Regions from separate parts of the Homo sapiens genome. Here region 1 is linked to region 2. Evidence: promoter capture Hi-C in human tissues and cell types (Jung and others, 2019). All regions are on one chromosome and are shown on one strand. Each heading gives the region's core, a stretch centred on a gene start or on the middle of the fragment in contact. The rest is flanking DNA. Distances are from core to core; before and after follow the strand shown. Region 1 overlaps PIP5K1A (phosphatidylinositol-4-phosphate 5-kinase type 1 alpha). Region 2 holds the start of MLLT11 (MLLT11 transcription factor 7 cofactor).

What was found. Contacts are between HindIII fragments. The study calls those that stand out against the background at their distance.
Region 1: a fragment that was not itself captured here is called in contact with the fragment with the promoter of MLLT11 in region 2 in 1 of the 25 tissues and cell types used here (pancreas).

Annotation. Positions count from the first base shown.
Region 1 is chr1:151,230,808-151,236,154 of GRCh38, reverse strand. PIP5K1A (phosphatidylinositol-4-phosphate 5-kinase type 1 alpha) reads right to left here. Exons shown (of 16, transcript NM_001135638.2): 5 at 4,354-4,484; 6 at 3,790-3,907; 7 at 3,452-3,604; 8 at 1,659-1,958. Among named protein-coding and RNA genes, the nearest start is that of PSMD4, 21 kb to the left of the region's middle. The HindIII fragment of the contact is 7,660 bases long and covers 1-5,347 here.
Region 2 is chr1:151,058,404-151,063,538 of GRCh38, reverse strand. MLLT11 (MLLT11 transcription factor 7 cofactor) reads right to left here and starts at 3,142. Exons shown (of 2, transcript NM_006818.4): 1 at 2,986-3,142. It overlaps CDC42SE1 (CDC42 small effector 1), which reads left to right and starts at 3,917. Exons shown (of 5, transcript NM_020239.4): 1 at 3,917-4,060. RefSeq lists an enhancer at 3,005-3,596. The HindIII fragment of the contact is 8,370 bases long and covers 1,570-5,135 here.

The DNA of each region.
Region 1 (5,347 bases), core at 1,574-4,073, 170 kb before region 2:
AACCTGTAAGGCTAAATTTTTTTTTTTTTTTTTTTGAGACGGAGTCTTGCTTTGTCGCCAGGCTGGAGTACAGTGGCGCGATCTTGGCTCACTGCAACCTCCAACTCCCTGGTTCAAGCGATTTTCCTGCCTCAGCCTCCCAAGTAGCTGGGATTACAGGCACGTGCCACCACACCCAGCTAATTTTTGTATTTTTAGTAGAGTTGGGGTTTCACCATGTTGGCCAGGCTGGTCTCGAACGCCTGACCTGGTGATCTGCCTGCCTCAGCCTCCCAAAGTGCTGGGATTACAGGCGTGAGCCACCACGCCCGGCCTGGTTAGTCTTTATTTACATACCCTTAGCTTTCTCTCATTTGAGTTAATATAATTTTTCCAAGTCCCACTGCCTAGCCCACAAGACCATCTTTGTTCTTTCCATGTATGTCTCCATGAAGAGAACACTACCTTCTCAAAAGAACAAGGAATACATATTTGTGCTGTGAAGATTCCACAATGAGGTTCTGGTAAAGTACACTTTGTGACAGAACAGATCTGTGGTAGGACCTTGTATGACTAGCTTCAATTCAGTTAAACATTTACTGAATCTCCACCATGTAGGCACTGTGCCTCCTTACAGAGATATAAAGATATTAAAGAGAGAGTTTCTGTCTTCAAGGACATTATACATTTAGAAAGGGATACAAATGTAAAATAAACACAATACAGTTTAATATGTGCAACAGTGGGAAGTGTTCACATGACAGAAGAGTACAGAGGTCAAGAGTGATATCTAGGCCGGGTGCGGTGGCTCACACCTGTAATCCTAGCACTTTGGGAGGCCAAGGCAGGCAGATCATTTGAGGTCAGGAGTTTGAAACCAGCGGGACCAACGTGGTGAAACCCTGTCACTACTAAAAATACAAAAACGACCCAGGCGTGGTGATGGGCGCCTGTAATCCCAGCTACTTGGGAGGCTGAGGCAGGAGAATCGCTTGAATCTGGGAGGTGGAAATTGCAGTGAGCCGAGATCGTGCCATTGCACTCCAGCCTGGGTGACAAGAGTGAAACTCCATCTCAAAAAATAAAAAATAAAGTAAAATGTAGATACATTTATCCATTGGTGACAGGGGCAGCATGAGAGGATGAAATAGGATAAAAAGTTAAGGTAGCTTGTTGAGAAACAAAGCTAGGGAGATGAGAGTCAGAAAATGGTTTGATTAGAATGCCAAACATCTGAAATCCCTATTGAGAGCAACAGCAAATGGACTGAAGATCGATATTGAAAGCCCAAGTGGGGTTGGATATCATAATTCTGTAGATGCCAGTATACACGGTTGTGTAATATTCTTCAGCAGCACTCAGCTTCCAAAATATAAATTTGGATTTGGCAGCCAGGACCAAAATCTGAGGAAGGATGATGTTGGTATGAAAATAAGCAGAACATTTGACTGTGAGGCCCAGGCTAGCTAGAGAAGGAAATAAATCCCATTGTGGGAGGATAAACGGGGAGAAAGTAAAAATGTAAAGGAATGGCAATGAACTAATTAAGACTTATTTTAAATACAGCCCAGGACATACAGTGCTAAGGAACAGAGTTCCATCTCCCACAAACTTAATGCCTAAGAACAATCAAGCTGTTTTAGTAACTGAGATTTTTGATGTCTAAGTAACAAACTCACCAAACAGTCACGCTGCAGGGTCTTACAGAGAGCGTTGTACATGTCAGCATCCAAAAAAAGACCATCAGGGATGTCTTGTAAGAAGTCTAGGTCTTTAAATGTGGGAAGAGGCTTCTCTCGCTCTTTCTGGGAAGCCCGCCGTTTGTAGGTTGAGCCTTTGAGGTCATATTTGATATGCATTTTTACCGATCTTGGTAAAAGATTGTTCATCACCACAATCCGAATGTTCTTGCCACCTGCCTGCACACAGTACAGTCCATAGAATTTAGGCAGCAAAGTCCGAGGGTTCTGGTTGAGGTTCTGAGAACACAAAAGGAAACAGAAGTAGGAGAACAACTTAGCTGATTTTCAGTGAAACTCACCAGTAAAAGTTACCACCCATCCTCCCTTTATCTCCTATATGAGATTTAGACACAATGTGTCCATAAACCTACATCATATATGCTTTACATTTCCCTATGCATCTATTTCAATGGTAAGTTCACCATCAAGCTGTGCCACAGACTCTCCAATACAGAAATCAGCCAGGATACCAATATAAGATGGATATATTTCTTCAGAGAGATTTAAGAGAAGACGACACTCTCTGCCCTGGGTATAGTATATTCTTGGGGATGGTAAGGCAGGTAAGGAGAGTTACCTAACTTCTCCAGAACCTCCAATAGCAATCAGAGTAAGGCTGCAGAGAGTATTACCAAGGGAAATAACCTACCTCATTCCCCAAACTAGAAGCTGAACTAAGAACAGAAGACGAAAATAGCCAGGTGCAGTGGCTCATGCCTGTAACCCCAGCACTTTGGGAGGCCAAACAGGAGGATCACTTGAGCTCAGGAATTTGAGACCAGCCTGGGTAACATAGCAAGACCTCATCTCTACTAAAAATTTATAAAAATTAGGCCGGGCACGGTGGCTCACGCCTGTAATCCCAGCACTTTGGGAGGCCAAGGCAGGCGGATCATGAGGTCAGGAGTTCAAGACCAGCCTGACCAACATGGTGAAACTCCATCTCTACTAAAAAATAAAAAATTAGCTTGGCATGGTGGCGCATGCCTGTAATCCCAGCTACTCAGGAGGCTGAGGCAGGAGAATTGCTTGAACCTGGGAGGCGGAGGTTGCAGTGAGCCGAGATTGTGCAACTGTACTCCAGCTTGGACAACAAAGCGAGACTCCGTCACGAAAAAATAAAAGAAAATAAGTTTATAAAAATTAGCCAGGTGTGGTGGTGCGTGCCTTTAGTCCCAACTACGTGAGAGGCTGAGGTGGGAGGATCACTTGAGCCTGGGAGATCAACAACACTTAAAACAGAACAGATAAACAAAACCCCTTTTACCATAGAGAGGCAAAAGAAATGGGGTGAAAAGCACAAAACTGAACAACATTTTTTTTTTTTTTTTTTTGAGACGGAGTCTTGCTCTGTTACCCAGGCTGGAGTGCAGTGGCAGGATCTCGGCTCACTGCAAACTTCGCCTCCCAGATTCACGCCATTCTCCTGTCTCAGCCTCCTGAGTAGCTGGGACTACAGGCGCCCGCTACCACGCCTGGCTAATTTTTTGTATTTTTAGTAAAGACGAGGTTTCACCATGTTGGCCAGGATGGTCTTGATCTCCTGATCTTGTGATCCTCTTGCCTCGGCCTCCCAAAGTCCTGGGATTACAGGCATGAGCCACCGTGCCTGGCCTGAACTACACTCTTAAGATAGAAGTGCTGACACTGTTTTACCCTGCTGAAGACAGCCTCCCCAGCCTTGCCCAGAAGTGAGCAGCACAGGTGGACAGTGCTTCTCTCTCCCTTACCATGTAGTATCCTGGAAGCAGCTTCTGCAGAAATTCCGCCTCTTTATGTTGGACTGTCTTAATAATGAACTCATCGTCGCTGGACACATAGAATAGGGAACCACTAGCTCCAGAGCTACAGAGTTCAATCAGCGGCTCACTGCAGAGGGAATACTGGGGCAAACAGAGAAGAACTAAGAGATTTAGACACATCAGGGCCTTGCCCAACACAAAAATCAACTACAGATGCAATTCTTTTCTAAATAAAAACCAGAGCGAGACTGTGGAGAAAAGGGGCCTTCCTTTGGGAATATCCCTCTGATACTGGAGTCACAGTGTCCTGATATCCAGATGCTTACCAAGTAATCATCGGGCCGGATACCAAATAGCTCCCGGAAGTAGCGGAAGGCAACAGGTGCATAGGTCTTGAAACGAAAGTCATTGTAGTGATGAGCAGGGGTCAGGTTGCTCCCTTCACTGTGGGGTTAAACAGAGGTAGCCATAACTTGCCAGTCCCTATCATCCAGAGAATCTACCTTGCGAAGACACTCAGAGTCACCTCATGGTGGGGGGAGTGGGGGAATACATTCCTCCTAAGATAATCACAGCCCTTCTTAGATGAGTTAGTGAGACAATGGCACAGCATGGACAGCAAGACATAAGAAGAAGAAGAAATCACACTGCCTCCTATCCAATGCATTAGGTTGTTTTTTACGGGTCAATCCATAGGACAGAGGCTAATGGAAGCATCTAGAGGACAGTATCTGCTCTCCGAACTCTCTAGTCCCACATCGCCCTGATTGTAACCAGGTTAAGAAATGGACACATGTCTAAATTGTCCGACCTGAACCCCTAAAACTGCCCTGGGCTGATTTGAAAAGGCCACATTTCCAGGACATGCTCCTGAACATTAAACTCTGTACCTGGGAAAGAAGATACTCTCAACCACGTAGAAATCTTGCATGAGGACATCACGCTCTGGTTTGGTACTCAGGCTCCCCACAGTGTGGGTAATGCCTAACTGGATGGCACCTTTCAAGGCTGATGAGGTTGTCTGAGAAACAAGAGAAATGAGAAGAAAATTCCTAGTATAAGTAGGATCATAACAATAAAAATTCAGAAAGGGGAAGCTAGAAGGAACACTTTAAAACAAACATCCTTTAGTCTGAGCAATAGTTCAGATAAAACTGGGACAATCCAGTTTCCCCATCCCTATGCTGTACTCTGCAATTAAGCTTAGTAAAGATTGGAAGGACAGTGAGGATACAGAGTAGCAAAGCTGGGACTCTCTGAGCCAGCCTCAGCTAGGCAAGGTGCTCCCTCCTGTTGGCCTGCCTAAACAAGAGTTCCATATTTGTATTTGGAAGATACATTGTATTGACACAACGTTCTTAGTTCTCACTCCTAAGGTTTCTGCCCCCAGAGTGTATCTGGAGCCCTCTAAACATTTCCTTCATCTGATATCGAATGTAACTAAAATTAACCAATATTCCTTTTTTTTTTTTTTTTTTTTGAGACTAAGTCTCACTCTGTCACCCAGGCTGGAATGGAGTACAGCAGCATGATCTCGGCTCACTGCAAACTTTGCCTCCCCGGTTCAAGCGATTCTCATGCCTCAGCCTCCCGAGTAGCTGAGATTACAGGCATGCACCACGACACCTTGCTTATTCTTTATATTTTTAGTACAGATGGGGTTTCACTATGTTGGTCAGGCTGGTCTCAAGCTCCTAACCTCAGAACTCCCAAAGCTCTGGGATTACGGGCATGAGCCACCATGCCCAGCCCTAAAATTAACCAATATTCTGATCTGACTGCCTGGCGGCAGAAACTTCAGTCCTCTAAGGAAGGGCCTGACTAGTGTGTCTCAAGGCCAACAGGGTGGGGTGGGCGCGGGCGGAGGCTCACGCCTCTAATCCA
Region 2 (5,135 bases), core at 1,893-4,392:
CAGGAGAATGGCGCGAACCTGGGAGGCGGAGCTTGCGGTGAGCTGAGATAGCGCCACTGCACTCCAGCCTGGGCGAAAGAGCAAGACTCCGTCTCAATAATAATAATAATAAATAAATAAAAATTAAAAAAAGAAGCATTAGTTGAAATGTTCCCAAAGGAGCAGAAAGAACATTCTATCACCTCCAAAAACAGAACCCCAAGTTTCAAAAGGCCTTTCTCCAACACACCCTATTGGGTCTCACCAGGCCAGAGACTCCTAAATAATGGCCTTAAATAGGTTCCAAAATGCTCCAGTATAATGTGAAATGACTGTACTAAGGCAGAAAAAGAAAGTGTTAATCTAGAACACAGTGATGTGTGAGAGTGTGGGGGCTTCAGGAATGGTGAGTGGGTAGGCTAGGATGTTTTTAATGTTGAAAGTGAATTCTGAGTTGTTCTTTTTCTTAGTTTAAGTTCCAAAATAAACCCTGGGAACTGAGCATTACTCAGCAGAGAAGCTGCTTAGAAGGAGGGTGATGCCGGGATTGCAGCAGGGTCGGGGAGCATGTTGGAAAGGTGAGGTCATCATCCTATGATACTCAACTCTGATAATCTCCATAGTACTTTGCAGAGACGTGTGCAGAAAGAGAGCTACAAAAAATGGTTGTATCCATTAACCAACCACCCACTGCTTAAATCTGGGACTATAGAGATTCTAAGAAGCATACCTAGGAGTCAATACTGTTATGGACTTGTGGCTACAGGGATTCTTACTGTTACCAGTTATTTTCACAGCTAGCTGGGTTCTTTTCTCTATCCTACCTGACAAGTCTTCTCCAGAATGAGCTTAGTATAATGCAGGCCACATTATAGGCTCTTTAAAAAATAGAATCATGGGGCCAGGCGCGGTGGCACACGCCTGTAATCTCAGCACTTTGGGAGGCCGAGGCAGGTGGATCACAAGGTCAGGAATTCGAGACCAGCCTGGCCAAGATAGTGAAACCCCGTCTTTACTAAAAATACAAAAATTAGCCAGGTGTGGTGGCAGGCGCCTATAATCCCAGCTACTCGGGAGGCTGAGGCAGGAGAATCGCTTGAACTGGGGAGGTGGAGGTTGCAGTGAGCCAAGATTGCACCACTGCACTCCAGCCTGGGCAACAGAGCGAGACTCCATCTTAAAAAAAAAAAAAAAATAGAATCATGGGGGGAAAAAATCATAGAATTTTAAAACTAGAAGACATCTTAGAAATTAATGACTTGGGAAGACTTCCAGCCAGTTTGTATAGAATCCAGATCTCATAATTCCCAATCTGATCCCTTTTTGTGTTGTACATGGATAGTTGCCAACAGCTTTATATAACCCTATACCAGTATTCCCAAAACTTAAAAGAATTTTTAGTTGCTGAAGAATAGATTTTCCGTGGTTTAGGTGATTGTTCCTGTAATTGTGATCTGAATGGGGAAAAGCAAAGGGCAGTAGAGCAAGCTAGAATCTGAGAAAAAAAAAAAAGCTCTTCGACAAACTGACTCCTTTTCTTACAACCAGAGTATGTATAAAAAACTGCTCAAACAGTCCCTGAGTGTTTGGTAGAGCTATCTTGCAATTTAAAAAGCTAAAGCAAATTTTATGAAATATTAACTCAAAAGGCCTAAAATCTCTATGTCATTGACCCAGAGACATGTACACAGGGTACCAAATACATTCAAGAAAGACATGCATGCAAACATACGTGGCATTAAAATCAAGTCAAGAACATAAAGTAATACTACACAGAAAATTGAAGTTAAAATGCTATTCACTAATGTAAGTAGTAATGACATTTTTGATTTAATATAGTATGGATTTAATTATCAAATACTCCAAATTTCGCAAAAGATCCTTTTTTGGCTAGCTTCCCCTTCCCCTCCACAAATGCTCTCCAGCCCTACTTCATCTATCTTTACATCTTTCATTATCTTAAATGGTATCATTTACTTAAAGGGTTTTGACAGTGCCTTGTACCACAATATATGTTCAATAAATGCTTCCCACTATCCTTCACTTTAAATTATCCGGGTATTTTAGGCAAAGGCAATATCTAATTATCACTCTGTTCTTAGAGATACATGATTAGCAAATGTATAGATTAGAAAGATACACTCTCGGAGCCACACAGACACGCCCAAATATCCTTTGTCCAGACCCTTTGTGGGCATCCAAGGCCTACTCAACAGGGCCTTGCTGTGTCATGCTGCCACCATGGGGAAGGGGGAAGGACAAGGTGGTGGTGGTGGTAGAGGGGAGCAGAACCTCTCTGACATCTCATAATGTGTGCCTCAGTCAGAGCTTGGATTTTCCTACTAGCATTCCTCCACCAATTCCACTGAGCTGCAAATCATTCTTTTCCAGAATCTGTCCCCATACCTAGCTCCTGTGGGCTATACTGATTTCACTATGGAATCAGGCAGTTCTCCAACACAGAGGCCCCCACCTTTCCTACCCTAGGCTGCCTCTTTCTTTGGAGCAAAGATTCGAGGTGGAATGAAAGAGATTATCCAAAGAAAGGTCAGGATTACACCCAACATTATCCCATATAACCCCCTCCCAAACTCCCTCCTACAGAGAAACATAGAACACTACAGAAAAAAATTGCAAGTATAGGGAAGTAGAGGACAGAGAGATACAGTAGGACTAAAAATTAAACAGCTGGTAAAACAAATTATGGTTTGAAAAGGAAGATAAGTAGACTGAAGATATTAAATACACAGGACAATAAATTACAGAAAAGGATACTTGAAATGAGGTAGGTGCTGAGAAATAACTACAAGTAAATTGTTAGAGATTAATGGTCTGTATAAGGTAACAAGGCATGGATGCTGTGAAGAAATAACTACCCATTGTTCATAGCGCCCCCTTCTCTCCTCTTCAGCTGTCCCCCACCTCATGTGGGGTCTTTCAATCTAACCATAAGCAGCCGCTCTTCTATCTTTGCAGCCCCCTGCCCCCTCCCTCAGTTTGGTTTACCTGTTATCAATCAATTACTGGCGTGTTCCAAAGATGGAGGGAGTGCCTCGGGAGCTCCGGGGTCTGCGCCGGGCTGGAGAAATACAAAGCTGTTGGGGCTTTGACGGCTTTGTCTTCTCACTCCTTTTCCCTCTTCAGTGACTGAGTCTGTCAGTTCACTCTCCCCCTGCAATGCAGCCCCTCCTAAGAAGGGCGGAAGGATTCCCCGCCCCCTCCTGCCTGACTCGGCTAATTCAAATGATAGGTTCCAGAACACTTGAGGGAAGGAGAGACGATGAAAGCATCTCCCTAGGCTCATTGGTCTGCGCTATTATTCCCGATCTCTTCCAGCACCCCCGTGCTGACTGGGGGCCCAATGAATGAGCAGTTAATTGCCCTCTAATTTTAGGTCCTCTAATTTATGGATTTGAAATCTTAACTCTAGACTACAATGGAAAGGAGGAGTATTCCTTTCTTCCACAATTTAAGGACTTTAGGTTACAAAGTATTTTTAAGAATCAGAGTATTTTTCCACCCCTTCTCCCAATCCCTGCTCCTCCAGACTCGCCTCTCTACCCTCACAATGGGTAAATAAACCTAGTCCTATTCCATTTTGGGTAGAGCACAATAAATTTGGGGTGGGGGGCGTGCTTCTGCGAATCTCTGAACTTGGTTAGGTCTGGGGGTTTGGGGGGCTCCGCTTCGTTTTGCCCCGAAATGCCTGGCGAGTAAAGGGAACGTGAGATTCCGGGGGCCCCAGCTTGGGTGCCAGGGCCTCATCTAGGTGTCCGCATTCTCCAGTTCTCCCCGCAGGGGCGGCGGCCTTGAGGGGCTGCAGAGGCACCCTCCCACGTCCCGCGCAGTGCAGTGCCTCCGCAGTCCAGAGGGGAGCAGTGCGCCGGGCTCCGAGCCGGACGGGTTTCGTAATCGCGTCGCCGCCGCTTCCGCCCTCAGCCGGCCCCACCTCTGCCGGCTCGTACTCGGCTCCCCCACCTCGCCGCAGAGCTAGCCCGGGAAGCCCACACTGGCGGCCACGGAGCAGAGTCCCTCACCCCCACCAGCTGTAGCTGAACGTCTGGATGGTGGAGAAGAGCAGGTGAGGCCGTGCAGTTGGTCCCCTGGCCCGCCTGCCGCGCCGGCCGGGCCAGGCGGAGACACACCGGATGCGGGGTGTGGGGGAGGCGGGTGTCCTGGGCTGCAGAGATGCTGGGGTGGTGGGAAAGGGGTGCGCGCCCGGGGTGGCCGTAGTCATCCACGCTCCTGGGGTGCGCAGGCTGAGGCCGCTGAAGAGTAGAAGGAAAAGAAGGAACTGGAATGTTGGGGGAGGTGGGAGGGAGAGGGTCCGAAAGATTCCCAGAGAGGTCCCAGTCCGGTTAAGGGTTGAGAACAGCAGAGAACTTCTAGGTAGAGTTGTGTAGTGGGGGGAGACAGATACGGAATCTGTGTGATTGAATATATTTGGGGAGGGGAGGCTTAGGGCCTAGCCCTCTTTCCTCTTAAGCCCCCAGAAGACCTTTCCTGGGGAAGGGAAGGTTGGTGTTGGGCCTGTCACTTGGCTGAAATATGGAGTCCACACCGCTTCTCCAGAGTCCCTCAGCAGCCCTCCATGTCTCGGGGTCTCCACACAGGGACCAGCTGCTGCCCCGGGCTTCTAGCCAGAATTGCCCATGCCATTCTCTCGATTCTTTCTTTCTCTCCAGCTGCTTCATGTGAGGGCTTGTCAGGCCGCGGGTTGGAGGCCTTAGGGCCAGAGGCGGTGGGACCGGGAGAACCGGTTTGGGGCCCGAACAGGACCAGAGAACTAGCCTGTACATCCTTCCTCCCTGGCACCTCTTTCCCATCCCTTCTGCTCACCTCCCAACAGCTCTGAGACCCTCAAGTCCTAGTATGATCTTGGTGGGGGCGGGGGGTGGCTTTCCCGGTTCCATATTTCACTCTTGCCATTTGGAACTCAGAGAGGTCGAGTTCTGAGCACCACTTGGCTCTCAGGACGTGGCCTTATGAGGTCTAATCCTCATCCCTCCTGTTGTTTTCTCAGCCCCTTCCCTATTCACTGTGGGGTTGGATTCGGGTGGCTCTTCCGCCTGGGCTGACCAGCTCAGGACTTCATTTTTCCTCAACCCACTCTCTTCTGGCTGCTTTAAAGAAGAGTGGCCGCCAGTGGCTCTTAC